Regions from separate parts of the Homo sapiens genome. Here region 2 is linked to region 1. Evidence: promoter capture Hi-C in human tissues and cell types (Jung and others, 2019). All regions are on one chromosome and are shown on one strand. The core of a region is centred on a gene start or on the middle of the fragment in contact, and the rest is flanking DNA. Distances in the headings are between cores, read along the strand shown. Region 1 holds the start of PSMD11 (proteasome 26S subunit, non-ATPase 11). Region 2 overlaps ZNF207 (zinc finger protein 207).

Evidence for each region. Contacts are between HindIII fragments. The study calls those that stand out against the background at their distance.
Region 2: a fragment that was not itself captured here is called in contact with the fragment with the promoter of PSMD11 in region 1 in 2 of the 25 tissues and cell types used here (mesendoderm cells and thymus).

What each region holds. Positions count from the first base shown.
Region 1 is chr17:32,441,505-32,447,895 of GRCh38, reverse strand. It overlaps PSMD11 (proteasome 26S subunit, non-ATPase 11), which reads right to left and starts at 3,386. Exons shown (of 14, transcript NM_002815.4): 1 at 3,282-3,386; 2 at 850-951. The coding sequence starts at 3,372. RefSeq lists enhancers at 3,297-3,376, 2,990-3,605 and a silencer at 3,497-3,666. The HindIII fragment of the contact is 9,367 bases long and covers 1-6,391 here.
Region 2 is chr17:32,369,953-32,376,240 of GRCh38, reverse strand. It overlaps ZNF207 (zinc finger protein 207), which reads right to left. Exons shown (of 12, transcript NM_001098507.2): 12 at 1-6,288. Among named protein-coding and RNA genes, the nearest start is that of ZNF207, 23 kb to the right of the region's middle. The HindIII fragment of the contact is 3,452 bases long and covers 1,173-4,624 here.

The sequences.
Region 1 (6,391 bases), core at 2,137-4,636:
AAAAAAAAAAGAAAAAGAAAAAAAAAATCTTTAGTTCTCAAGTTGAAGAAGTTGTGCTAACTAACCCCCATCATTCTCTTGAACAACATAATTTTAGGGAAAATAATTCATGAGGTCACTTACCAGATCTTAATCCAATCTAATCAAATAAGCTCTAAATTCACTTTAAACTTGACAAAAATCACCCATTTAAGTTTAAACAGACTTCTCTCTAAATACTATTACCACTTTACTGGTAAAAGGTCCTTCCTGATCAAAAGGACTCCCTTCTCATTCCAAGGACACACCCATCATCAGAATATTATGTCAAATCTAATCAGTCAATGGTTCAATTACAACTAGAATGTTTGAGCAATGATGTGCACAAAGTCCTAGGTATGAATGCAGAAGTCTTGGGAAGGCTCCATTTAATGTCTTATTCATTCTCATTCTGAATCTATCAAAAAAAAATGACAGTGAGTCACTTGGATACAAAATCCTTTGTCATTTTTAAATCAGGCGCTTAAAGTTGTTATCTATCTTAAATACATCAGAGTTGCTCAGTGAAATTATTGAAGACTGTTGCTGCCTCTATGTAAGGGAATACAGTGAGAATTCAAAAACCAGAAACAAATCAGAAATCACTATATCCCAACAAAAATAAGATTGTCTCTCATTTGCAAAACTAAACTACCAGGAAAGAAGTGAGTTTAAAGGCCACTTAATTGCCTGCTAAAAAACTGAAGCTCAACAAGTTGCCAAGAAAATAAAGCTGAATTCAGTTTGTGGATCAGTCCCATGATTCTTCACTCCAACAAAAGACAGGAATTTCACTGAGCATTTCAGATACAATCCATGTGTAGCACTTACCTGCAGCTTGTCCAGTCTTTGCCAGGAGAGATCCCAGTTCCAGGATGCTCTGCTCTTTGACTTGCACTGCCTCTTCATCGTTTTCCTGAATGTCACGCTTCACTGGGAGAGGAAAATGCAAACCCTCTTAAAATTCTGACCAAAAAATGAAGACTGAGGGAAATTTCACCCTCATAAGATCCATTACAAACTCAAACATATTTACCAAAAGACAAATTCTAGAGTTAAAAAAAAAAAAAAAACTCTAAGCCAGGAAAAAAAAAAGATCATATATACGTAGAATATGCTCCATGTAAATCATAAAAAAAGGATTCTTCTCTTTGATTTTAAATGTGCCTTTTCATTCTACCCAGCAGAATTTTGCTTACCTACATACACTAAGTTTCTGTTGTGGTCACTTGGTTAAAGTGAAATTAAAACAAAACAAATCCTTCATACTTATGGTGCCAAGATCTGTTCCAGTCACTATTTTATGGGAAGATATTAAACATGCCTGTGCGTTTATGCCACAAACTAAAATCAATTGACCAAGTTACTGATGCCTGTAAGTCAAAAGCGTTTCAATAAACTTTAGGTCTGTGCAAAGCCTCAGCTGATGGGTGTGTTAGGGATAAGCAGGTCTATAAAGCCATTCAAGAAAAACAACTCTATCAAAGCCCCAGATCCTGCACAGCTACACTTAGGGGAGACTGCTGCTTTTTAATGCATTGAGGTCTGTTAAAATAACTTTGTGCTATCTGTCCTATTTTCAACAGTTAATAACTATTTTAACATTCAAACATGGAATAGCCTCTCCAAGTTTGTAGTGATCATCACTAGTTACTACTACTCTTACAAAGCATCATGACTTGACAAAAACCATGATGGAGTCCAGAAAAAGTAAGGCCGTCAACCACCATGACTCAAGCTTGCTCTAACAGTGAAGCTTTCAGGGAACTCTCCCCTAGAATAGTGGGCCAACAGGAAATACTCTAATTGTAATATTTGACGTAATTTCTACTTTATGAAAGAAAAAATATTAGACACTAGACACAGACTATTAAAATTCATGCTCCTCACATTAGTTCTAAATAATAGTGTGTACTCAGAATAAAATATCCATGTAACGGTGATTGAGATGACTCTGGTTCCGTAGAAGTAACTGACCTAAGATCAGAACTTTTAAAATGAAACACCTTTTACCAATATCATTCAAAGATACACCTTGACGCCCACTTCCTCTCCTTCTCTAGTATCCCCAATGATAAAGTATCAAGATCTTGTCATTGTCCTTTCTCCGTGCAGGTCTGGAATACCAAAATTCAACACACTAAGTCAAATGCCAACATCTTGCAAGTCCCACATACAGGTGCATTCTCATACTACTTGTTGAGCCAATTCAGATCTTCCCAAACTACACTACAAAGATGCCATTACATGTGCAGTGAAGAGCTAGTCCAAGCCCTAATTGAATCCTTTATGAGTGAACATTAACGTCTTCTTCTGTCGTAATAAATTTCTGTTCACACTTGAATCCCAACAGAAAGCTGCCGGAAGCGACTGGCTGGGATTCCCATTTCAGTTTTCCTGTTGTGTGTAGGTGTAAGACCATCGTTATTACAGCGTTAAGAAATTTTAATTTTTCCGGCAACATGCAGCCGACCCGTTCCAAAGAATTCCCTGAACTCCGCGGCTGACAACTAACTCCCTTAACTCACTTCCAACCCCTACAGGCAGTCTGGAAAGATTAGTCACCTCCTCTAGCCAGGCGGTCCCGCTCCAACACCTCACTCTTACACCCTACACAGAGCAGATGAGCGTCTCGGCCACCTCCACAAACCAAATGCCAATCTGAGGTGTGTGTCACCCCTGAATTTCCCACATTCTGAAAGAGACCCTCCTCTTAGTGGAGCTTTCTGCCGTGGGGCTGAGGAGTAGCAGCTCCCAGCGTCCCGTGGAAGGAAACTCCCAGAGAAGAGCAAGCGCTCGCGCTCCCACCCGGAGCAGGCTGTGCTGATTACAACGGCGGGAAATGCCTGTCCAGAGCTGGTTTCGCCAAGGCCTTTCAAGTAGAGACTCTAGGACCAGTCCGTGACAAGCACGCCGGCCGGCACTGCTCCGGGTCCCAGACCAGCTCGTGCGGGCCAGAGCCGGGGACATGGCTAGGGAGGGATCCCCGGGGGCCCGGCTCGGCCCACTCTCCCACCCTACGCTGAGCCCCCCGTGAGTCAGCAGCCGGCGAGGGGACCCGGGGATTGCCTCAAGCCCTCCCACAAGAGTGAGACCTGGGAGGCTCTGGGGAGCTCCGAGCGGCCTGCGCCCCCGGCCCGGCCCCCCTCACACAGTGAGTCAGCAGCATCAGAGCCGGCTAGCCGGGCCCCTCTCCGCTGCCGCCGACCGACATAAGCCGAGCTGGGCCGGCGGGGCCGGGGAGGCGGCGCGGCGACCTTTACCGATGGAGTGGAGGATGTCGATGGAGGCCTCCCGGTCGGTGCTGAGTAGAGACTGGGCTCTCTGGAACTCCACCACCGCCGCCGCCGCCATCTTACCGCTCTCACACCGTCCCCGGCCGCGGCCGCCGACGCCGGAAACACACACCCGGAAAGCCCGCCCTCGGGTCCCTCCGCCTGTAGCTCCCGTGGCTCCGTTCCCAGAGCACTCCGGGAGTTGTAGTCTCTCCGCCGGGCGCGGGCTGAGGGGTGGGGAGAGCGGGACCGCCTCGCAGGTGGGCTGCAAGCTCCCCAGCGCCTCCTAGCGGGCGGCCGGCGAGGAAAAGAGGCGGTGCCCCGCAGTGGGAGCTCTAGATCGGTCCCCGCCCACCCCAAAAGAGGCTTCTTGATTCCGGCCCCGCTCGCGCACCCCTGAGAGGGGTTCCTGAGTACTGGGCTAGGTATTGAGTCAAAGCTGCGTGGCTTTCTTTGCGGCTTCCACGATTTAACCATTCATTCGGGACGATAAGTGACCTTATAAAGTGCTCGCTATGTGGCAAAGAATAGCACCATTCGAATGCGTTCCAGTGTCTGACGCCTGTGCGCCGCACACACGCTTTCCAGGCTTGACTCCCGCAGAACGCTGGCCGGCAGGTGGGCAAACCCGCCAGGACCGGAGAAAACTGTCCTCACGCGCCCATTTAACCTTGGGACAGTGCTGGACGTGATGAAGTGAAACATCACCTTTGCTCCATTCACGCCACAAATACCTCTTGGGAATCCACAGAAGCCTCACCCAGCTCCCCAGCTCAAAGAAAAAAAAAAAAAAAGGAAGGAAGGAAGGGAGGGAGGGAGGGACGGAGGAAGGAAAAAATTGAATTATTCTTCCCAATATCTTCAGCCCCTTCAACTAAAGTCACAGATATCAGTGAAGACGTCGTGTGGACGGAAAAATGACATTCTATGAGACCACTTAGGGTTAAACTTAAGAAAGGTGCTAAAAGGATACAAAGACAATTCAGTATTAAGGAAGACCTTTCTCTAGGTGATGACGATCCAAAAATGGAATGTGCTGTCCCATAAAAGGAGGCAAAAAGGGGACTAACATTGCACACCCTCCTCTGTAAGTGGATTAGGCCATTTATATTCCTCTATCTCCTTTTATTCTCCCAACAATGTTCTGTAAAGCAGATATTTACTCCCCTTTAATATGTGAGGAAACAGGGGTTTGAGTTATTTGGTGAAGCTCAAATCGTGATTGGGAGAGATAAGAGCTGCCGGTTAGGGAATGCCTTCCTAATTCCTGGGTGTGTTCACGTGAAAAGTAGTTGACATCTCATCAGGTTGTTGTAAACAGGATTCATGACTTTGATGGAGAGTTGGATTAAATGGCTTCTAGCAAGGCGCGGTGGCTCATGCCTGTAATCCCAGCACTTTGGGAGGGCGAGGTGGGCATATCGCTTGAGCCCAGGAGTTTGAGACTAGCCTGGGCAACATAGACCCCCGACTCTACTAAAAATACAAAAATTATCCGGGCATGGTGGCGCACGCCTGTAGTCTCAGCTACTTGGGAGGCTGAGGTGGGAGGCTTTAGAAGAAATCATAGGAGAGGATAGAGTGCTGGCCTCACTACAAAGAGGGAGTACCATAAAACAGTGGACCCCAACATTTTTGGCACCAGGGACCAGTTTTGTGGAAGACAATTTTTCCACGGATGTGAGGAGGGGGGATGGTTTTGGGATGAAACCGTTCCACCTCAGATCATCAGGCATTAGATTCTCATAAGGAGCAGGCAACCTAAATCCCTGGCATGCTCAGTTCACAATAGGGTTTGCCTCCTATGAGAATATAATGCTGCAGCTGATCTGACAGGGGGCGGAGCTCAGGCAGTAATGCTGGCTCCCCAGCCGCTCACCTCCTGCTGTGAGGCCTGATTCCTAACAGGCCACTGACCAGTAGTGGTCCTTGGCCCAGGGTTGGGGACCCCCACTGTAAAAGACTAGGAGTGTCTGCCAGATCTTTCTCCCAAGCTAGTGAGTCTTGCTGACTGTGGAAACTTATGAGCCCATCCCTGTGTGATCATCATGGTGAAAGTTTTGAGATGAACTAGACATGTCTCTTGAGGAGTTTGGCATGTGTGCACATTCATGAAGATGGGCACCCACTTCTAGCCTGCAGAATTCTGAATTAGGGAAGCTGGCTGGCACACTCTACAATAGGACAGGGAGAAAAGGCAACAATAGGGTAGCTTCCACTCCCTGTGTTTGACATGGCAAGGTTCTTATGAGCCAAGAGGATGCTGAAAAGGTAGATCATCCGGGACCTTCTTAAAGGAACCTATTCAGTAGGACCGTATGCTAGTGTAAGGAGACCCAGAAATAAGTTGATGGAAGTGTGGACTTCAGGAGGCAGTCACTGATGGGAGTCTTGAGATCCACAGGTAGATCCTCCAAAGAACACAAGAATACATAAATGCTCCCAACGAGAAAGAACCAGCACCTGGGTCTCTGCCTCTGACGTCATCAGTCATGTAAGAGAAGAGACCTTGACCTCTTTTAATTCCTCCTACTTCTCTGCTTTCACCAAAACCTCCTCCACCCTGGAGGAAACCCAGAAACAGCAGAGTGAGAGGGTGGAGAATGAAAAGAGTGAAACTGCAGACCAAACACAAATTTTCAACTGCCTGAGACTTAGAGACAGGGGAAAAGCTTTAAGTTAGATATGAAATTAAAGTTTTGCTTTAGGCTAGACTGGACTTTCAATCATTATAAATGGCATAAAAGAGATTTAGGGGCCAGGTGCAGTGGTTCATGCCTGTAATCTCAGCACTTTGGGAGGCTGAGGCGGGCGGATCACGAGGTCAGGAGTTTGAGACCAGCCTGGCCAACATGGCAAAACCCCGTCTCTACTGAAAGTACAAAAAAATTAGCCAGGCATGGTGGTGTGTGCCTGTAATCCCAGCTAGTCAGGAGGCTGAGGCAGGAGAATTTCTTGAACCCAGGAAGTGGAGGTTGCAGTGAGCCAAGATCACCCCACTGCACTCCAGCCTGGGTGACAGAGTGGGACTCTGTCTCAAAAAAAAGAGAGAGAGAGAGAGAGATTTATGAGATTTTCCCATGGCATCTCCAGGGCAA
Region 2 (6,288 bases), core at 1,649-4,148, 71 kb after region 1:
ATATATTTAAAGTTATTGGGAAGCGCAAACTGAAGTCCTACTTTCTCCATTTCCTACATATTGGTTTGAATTAGATCCATAATAGGGTGCCTAAGAGCTTAAGATAGTAGTTTAGAAAACTCAGCACTAATCACAAAATTAATGAATATCCATTATGTACATGACCATACATCAAGTGCTTATTTTGCCAAGAAACATCACACAGAAAAGTCAGATGATTTCTTTGCTATAAAAACAAAAGGTTATTATTTAAATGATTCAATGACAGAAATTAAAATACTGAGAAAGGGTTTCTAAAAAGGAGTAAACTTTACTGTCATGAGACAGTTAGCATAAGTGGAATTGGGGGAATGTTTACTTATAAAAATCTGCCCTATAGTCAAATAGCCTTATAATTGAATCCCCTTTTAAAGGACTTTTACATAAAAGTTACAATGAAGAGCAAACAAATTTCAATTTGGAATAACGCAGAAAGATTACTCAATATTAGGTCAATAATGACAACCTTTTAAAAAAGACATTCATGTCTGTATAATTTTAGAGTATCTACTTCTAGGGTACATGTCTATTTTCATCAGCTTATTCAAACAAAATTTTGACTCAGTTAAAGTGGTGACTTCACAATTTTCTTTCATTTGCCAAGTTTTACTAGTGGATGTTACAGACACCTAAAAACTACATAATTCTCAAAATCTTATTTGTCTGAGTCACAGAACTACAAAAAAAAAGGAACTATCTTAGTTATCTATAGATATTACCTTCAACAGATTATGACATTACTAAATCCTTCCCACCCCCAGTACTCAACCAGATAAGAGCCTGTATTTCCAGCACACTTTTTTCAATTATCACCATTAGAATTAAGATAAGCAACTTAGAAAGATTTCAGCATATTGCAGGATGGTAGGTAATAGAGAAAACAGATCTCCAATTAAGGACTCTTAAATGTTGATTACTGAGGTTATAAAATAGTCCAATGGGATATTTTGTCATGGAAGCAACAAAATTCTTTAAATATTAAAATCCTATTAGTTATAGTGAAAAACATGTTATTTAACAAGTCAAAATTTACAATTCATTTAATGCATATTTTTTCTTTATGCTTCCAAGAATGAAAACCATATACAAACAATTCCAGGTTTGCTAAATGCTATACTGCTTGTTCATTGTTACTGCTCAGAGTAAACTGCTATCTGGATAGAATCGTGGCTCAAACACAAGAAACAAAAGTAATTCAGGTTTGTTTTTGGCCTCTCTTCCAATTCCCTAATTATTCCCTACAACAAACACACGCACACAACTTTTCTCACCAAATAAAAGCAAATTTTAGTTGGAAACAAATGTGGATACTTTTCACATGTGCGTAAAACACTGTTCAGTGAGGCTGAAAATGAACCTCAAAATAATCACTCCAAAACCATAGTTTAACATACTTTACCACAGGATCAGGTATCAAATTTCAGTTTCGATACCTGAAAATTAGTAATCCATCCATGCTGAAAGGTCTGTAACACCCAAATTCTGTTGTTATATCAACTATATGGTCTATACCCCCACATACACAAGCACACACATAGACACCACCTTCCCACCTTTACAGGGCTCTACATTAACATTTGCTCTAATGTGGTGAGGCTTGAAAATATTTTAAAATTAAGCATTTCCAGATGACCTTTTAGCCTTAACATTCAATGCGTAAGTTTGTGATTAAGAATGCAGATTTTGGCCAAGCGCGGTGGCCCACGCCTGTAATCCCAGCACTTTGGGAGGCCGAGGCAGGGGGATCGCAAAGTCAGGAGATCGAGACCATCCTGGCTAACACGGTGAAACCCCGTCTCTACTAAAAATACAAAAAATTAGCCGGGTGTGGTGGCAAGCACCTGTAGTCCCAGCTACTCGGGAGGCTGAGACAGGAGAATCGCTTGAATCCAGGAGGTGGAGGTTGTAGTGAGCTGAGATCGTGCTACTGCACTCTGGCCTGGGTGACACAGCGAGACAGTCTCAAAAAAAAAAAAAAAAAAAAAAAAAGAATGCAGATTTTGGCCAGGCGCGGTGGCTCACACCTGCTACTCCAGCACTCTGGGAGGCTGAGATGGGTGGATCACCTGAGGTCAGGAGTTTGAGACCAGCCTGGCCAACACGGCAAAACCCCATCCCTACTGAAAAATATTGAAAAAATAGCCAGATGTGGTGGCGGGAGCCTATAATCCCAGCTACTCGGGAGGCTGAGGCAGGAGAATCACTTGAATCCGGGAGGCAGAGGTTGCAGTGAACCGAGATCGCACCACTGCACTCCATCCTGGGTGATAAGAGTGAAACTCCGTCTCAAAAAAGAGAAGGCACATTTCAGTATCCAGTGGCATTTCCAATGATTAAACTTATCCTTGAGGTTAAATTTAATAGTTTATGGAGAAAATAAAACCAGTAAGATTTTCCTAGAAGTGAAAGTAAAAAACTTGAATGAAACATTTCTTGCCTCCAATCAAAAATATCAAATTTTGTCAATTTATTGAAGTTCAATATAGGAACACAAGCTTTACTGAAGCTGTTAATTATGTAACACACAGCAAATTACATAAAATTGCATATGAAATACTTATGTTTATTAACACCACAGTCAAACGTGAATATTAATATAGAGCCTTCTCTGCCAAAAGAGTATAAAAATCCTAAGTTTAATTAAATTTAGGGGCCTTCACCAAACTTGCTGCAAGTTTGGGGACATAAATATCCAACAGCCATAAAGCTGTGAAAGCCCCTATAAGGAATAAAATAAATCCCACTTGCCTCAGACTGAACAGGGCAACACTGAGACTCAGCCTCAGCCTGTCCTATGGCAGGGCTATAGGAAGAAGAAAATTTTAATTTTAGAAAAACAGTTCCCAATTAATTTAAAAGACATGCATTAAAATTTTTTTTTTTAAAAATCCCAATGATCAAGCAAGCAAAAGGAGCAGCTTTGTTTTTAACTATTGTCCACTACAATTCCACTCTGAGCCCGTACTTCTTTTTGTTGGGGAATCCCCCTCCCCAATTAATTAAGTTTAATTAAGGTGAGTCTAAGTTCAAAATGTAACTTAGTGGAATAGGAGTACAGTAGGAATATTTTATTCATACCTAATGGCAAATGTGTGAGACACTACTAAAATACTAAGTATTCAAATCAAGTAATTCCAGCAGCCACTCAAAAATTAATCCTTACCTGCTGTGGTCTTGTTAAACAGTATGAAAACTTATACAACAGAAACTAGTGCCAGACAAAATGTTTTCTTGTTTTTCTAAAAGGGGTGGATGTAAGGTAGAGCCAAAGTTGCCAGCCCTACTAACCTTACAGCTTCCTTAATTATGACAATCACAATGCCTGCCTGAATTATCAAGTCCCAAAAGTTGTCTTCTGTGAGGGCAGTTGGCATCCACTTTGACTCAACTTCATCTACTACTTAAGGAAGGTTGAGTCAGAGTTAATTATATGAATATAATTTGCTCCACTCATAATTCAACCACACTATGGACCCCAGAAGCATTTAGAAAAAAGGTATTTTCTAGAAGCTTAATTACGTTTGGATGCATGCAAAAATTACACTTCAAATATATTAAATGGGTACACCACCTCTGAGCCTATAGCTACAAACTCAGGAACTCATGAGCTTAAGTTTTATCTGCCAATGCCTAACACTTTCAATTAATTTTTAATTAGAATTCTATCCCATATTTAAAAGTTCCATTTTTGCCCATCAGACCTATACAGAGAGCAAAAAACCTTGCTACAAAGTATCAACCTTCTTTGCATAAAATGCAAATAAAGCTTCACATAATTTCTGAAACAGGTCTACTAACCCTATTGCAGTTTGTCAATAACCGTATACATGAAATTCCTGAGAATTTGGGAGAGCACCCCTTACTTAATTATTCTAAATTTAATCACAGCATTTTTTTTTTTTGAGACGGAGTCTCAATCTGTCGTCCAGGCTAGAGTGCAGTGGTGTGATCTCCGCTCACTGCAAGCTATGCCTCCCGGGTTCACGCCATTCTCCTGCCTCGGTCTCCAGAGTAGTTGGGACTACAGGCATCCGCAACTACGCCCAGCTAATTTTTTGTATTTTTAGTAGAAACGGGGTTTCACCGTGTTAGCCAGGATGGTCTCCATCTCCTGACCTCATGATCCACCCGCCTGGGCCTCCCAAAGTGCTGGGATTACAGGCGTGAGCCACTGCGCCCGGCCTATCACACCATTTTTATCTTAAAGACTTTCAACACAAGTTTTCCTTCAGCAGTATATTAAGTGTGCTGCCAAATCAAAGCAGCATGTATTAATTTTGAAACCATTTAGGTAAGCAGAGGTTCAGAGGGGAAAGTGGTTTGGGACTTGGCTGCTGGCAGAAAGAAATACATTACTGGCAAAATACCTGTTTTATTTTCAAACTATGAAAATTTTTGTACCACTATGGTACCACAAGCACAGGAGCCAAAATCATTGAAGCCAGATAATCAGATATTTTAATTTATTTTTTGACAGAGTCTCGCTCTGTTGCCCAGGCTGGAGTGAACATAGCTCACCGCAGCCTCGGAAGGAGGAAGAACCTCCTTCCTCAGCCTCTTGAGCAGCTGGGACCACAGACACACACTAACGCGCCTGGCTAATTTTTAAATGTTTTGTACAGATGGGGTTTTGCCATGTTGGCCAGGCTGGTCTCAAACTCCTGGACTCAAGCAATCCTCCCATCTCAGCCTTCCAGAGGGCTGGGATTACAGGCGTGAGCCACTGCACCCAGCCAATGTGAGTTAAAATAGCATTCAGCTTTATAATACTTGCAATGTTTTGCTTAAAGGTATGACTTTCATCTGTCACATAAATACGAACTCTTTTGTGATGGCTAAATCACTTTTCAATATATTTTCCTTCAAAGTTAAAGCCCTTTTTTCCATACAACTTCAGACTTCATGTGTTTTATCTATACCTTCACAGGAAAGTTATAAAGAAATGTTACCATTTTCTTAGAAGTCTTAACTTTATAATGAGAAAAACTCAACTTGAGTTCATTATATTAATACTTTGCATAGGTTATTTGATGCCTAAAAAATCATAAAACTACCCTGCAAAAGATCAGAAAAACAGATCCCAAAAAGGTCAACAAGAGCTATTATTTTAAGAGGTTGCAACACAAAATATTGAATAGCAGTCATCTCTACAGAAAAGCTCTCTGTAAGAACACAACATTCAAAATTTCCAAGGATAAATAAAAAGTTGCACAGTAAGGCTACCTAGGCTTAATAACAGAAGGTACTCAAATGAATAATGTAATCTTCCAGGAACATAATAAAAATTGCCAATTCATCTGTTAACCATCCCAACAGAGACACATTTAGATTCTCAGCATTACACTTAGAATAATATATAATAACCCATTAACAGCACAAGAAGCTATTACTGCATGCACCTAAGCTTCTAGAAGTTTGCACCTGAAAAGCTTCTGAGGTCCATGCAGTACTGAGTCTCAAAAATAATCAAAAGGAAATGAATGGGTCTGGCACTAGGCTCTAAACATCTCAGCAGGAAGGAAAAGTGTTAACATTTACATTTTAAGTATCTATGACACGTGATGTGTACTGACACCATAGAGGGTGGAAGGGTGATTATAAAGATTTCATACCCATTATGTAATGACTCATGTATCTTAAGTTTTTCTCTTAACTGAAACATTAACATACAACTCTATGCAAATTCAGTTTAAAACATGCAGCTAAGAAATAACCTACAACTCAAAGACAGAATCCAATGATATATCAAAACTGCATTGGTAACTATGAATTTTATTATGTGGACATCTACTGTGGCATGCATCTGTACAAACCTTTCAGGCAGTGGTCCACAGCTGGGTTATGAATAAAAAGGCATAAATTTTTCTCTCATTTTATTACAATGAAGTTTAACAGTACAGAAAAGTCACATGACCTTGGTGGGTCAGATTTCTTAAACCCTGCAACATGAGGAACTCTAAATACATTAAATATTGTTACACATTCAGACTTCCAATGTACAAGTACTTGGAAACAGTTACAGCCCTCACCAAGCTAGGTTGGGGACATGAAGTCCAACAGCATCTGAAATGCTGTGAAGGCAAACTTTACAAATAGCAATGTAAGCTTACAGAACTTGCCTTTACTAGGGTGGTATGTTCATGTAATTCCAGCGCCTTCACAATTTAACGAACCAAATTTACTATACTTCACTTCTAAAAACCTAGATGAAACATGAAAAAGAAGCCATACAGTATAAATTGCAACTTC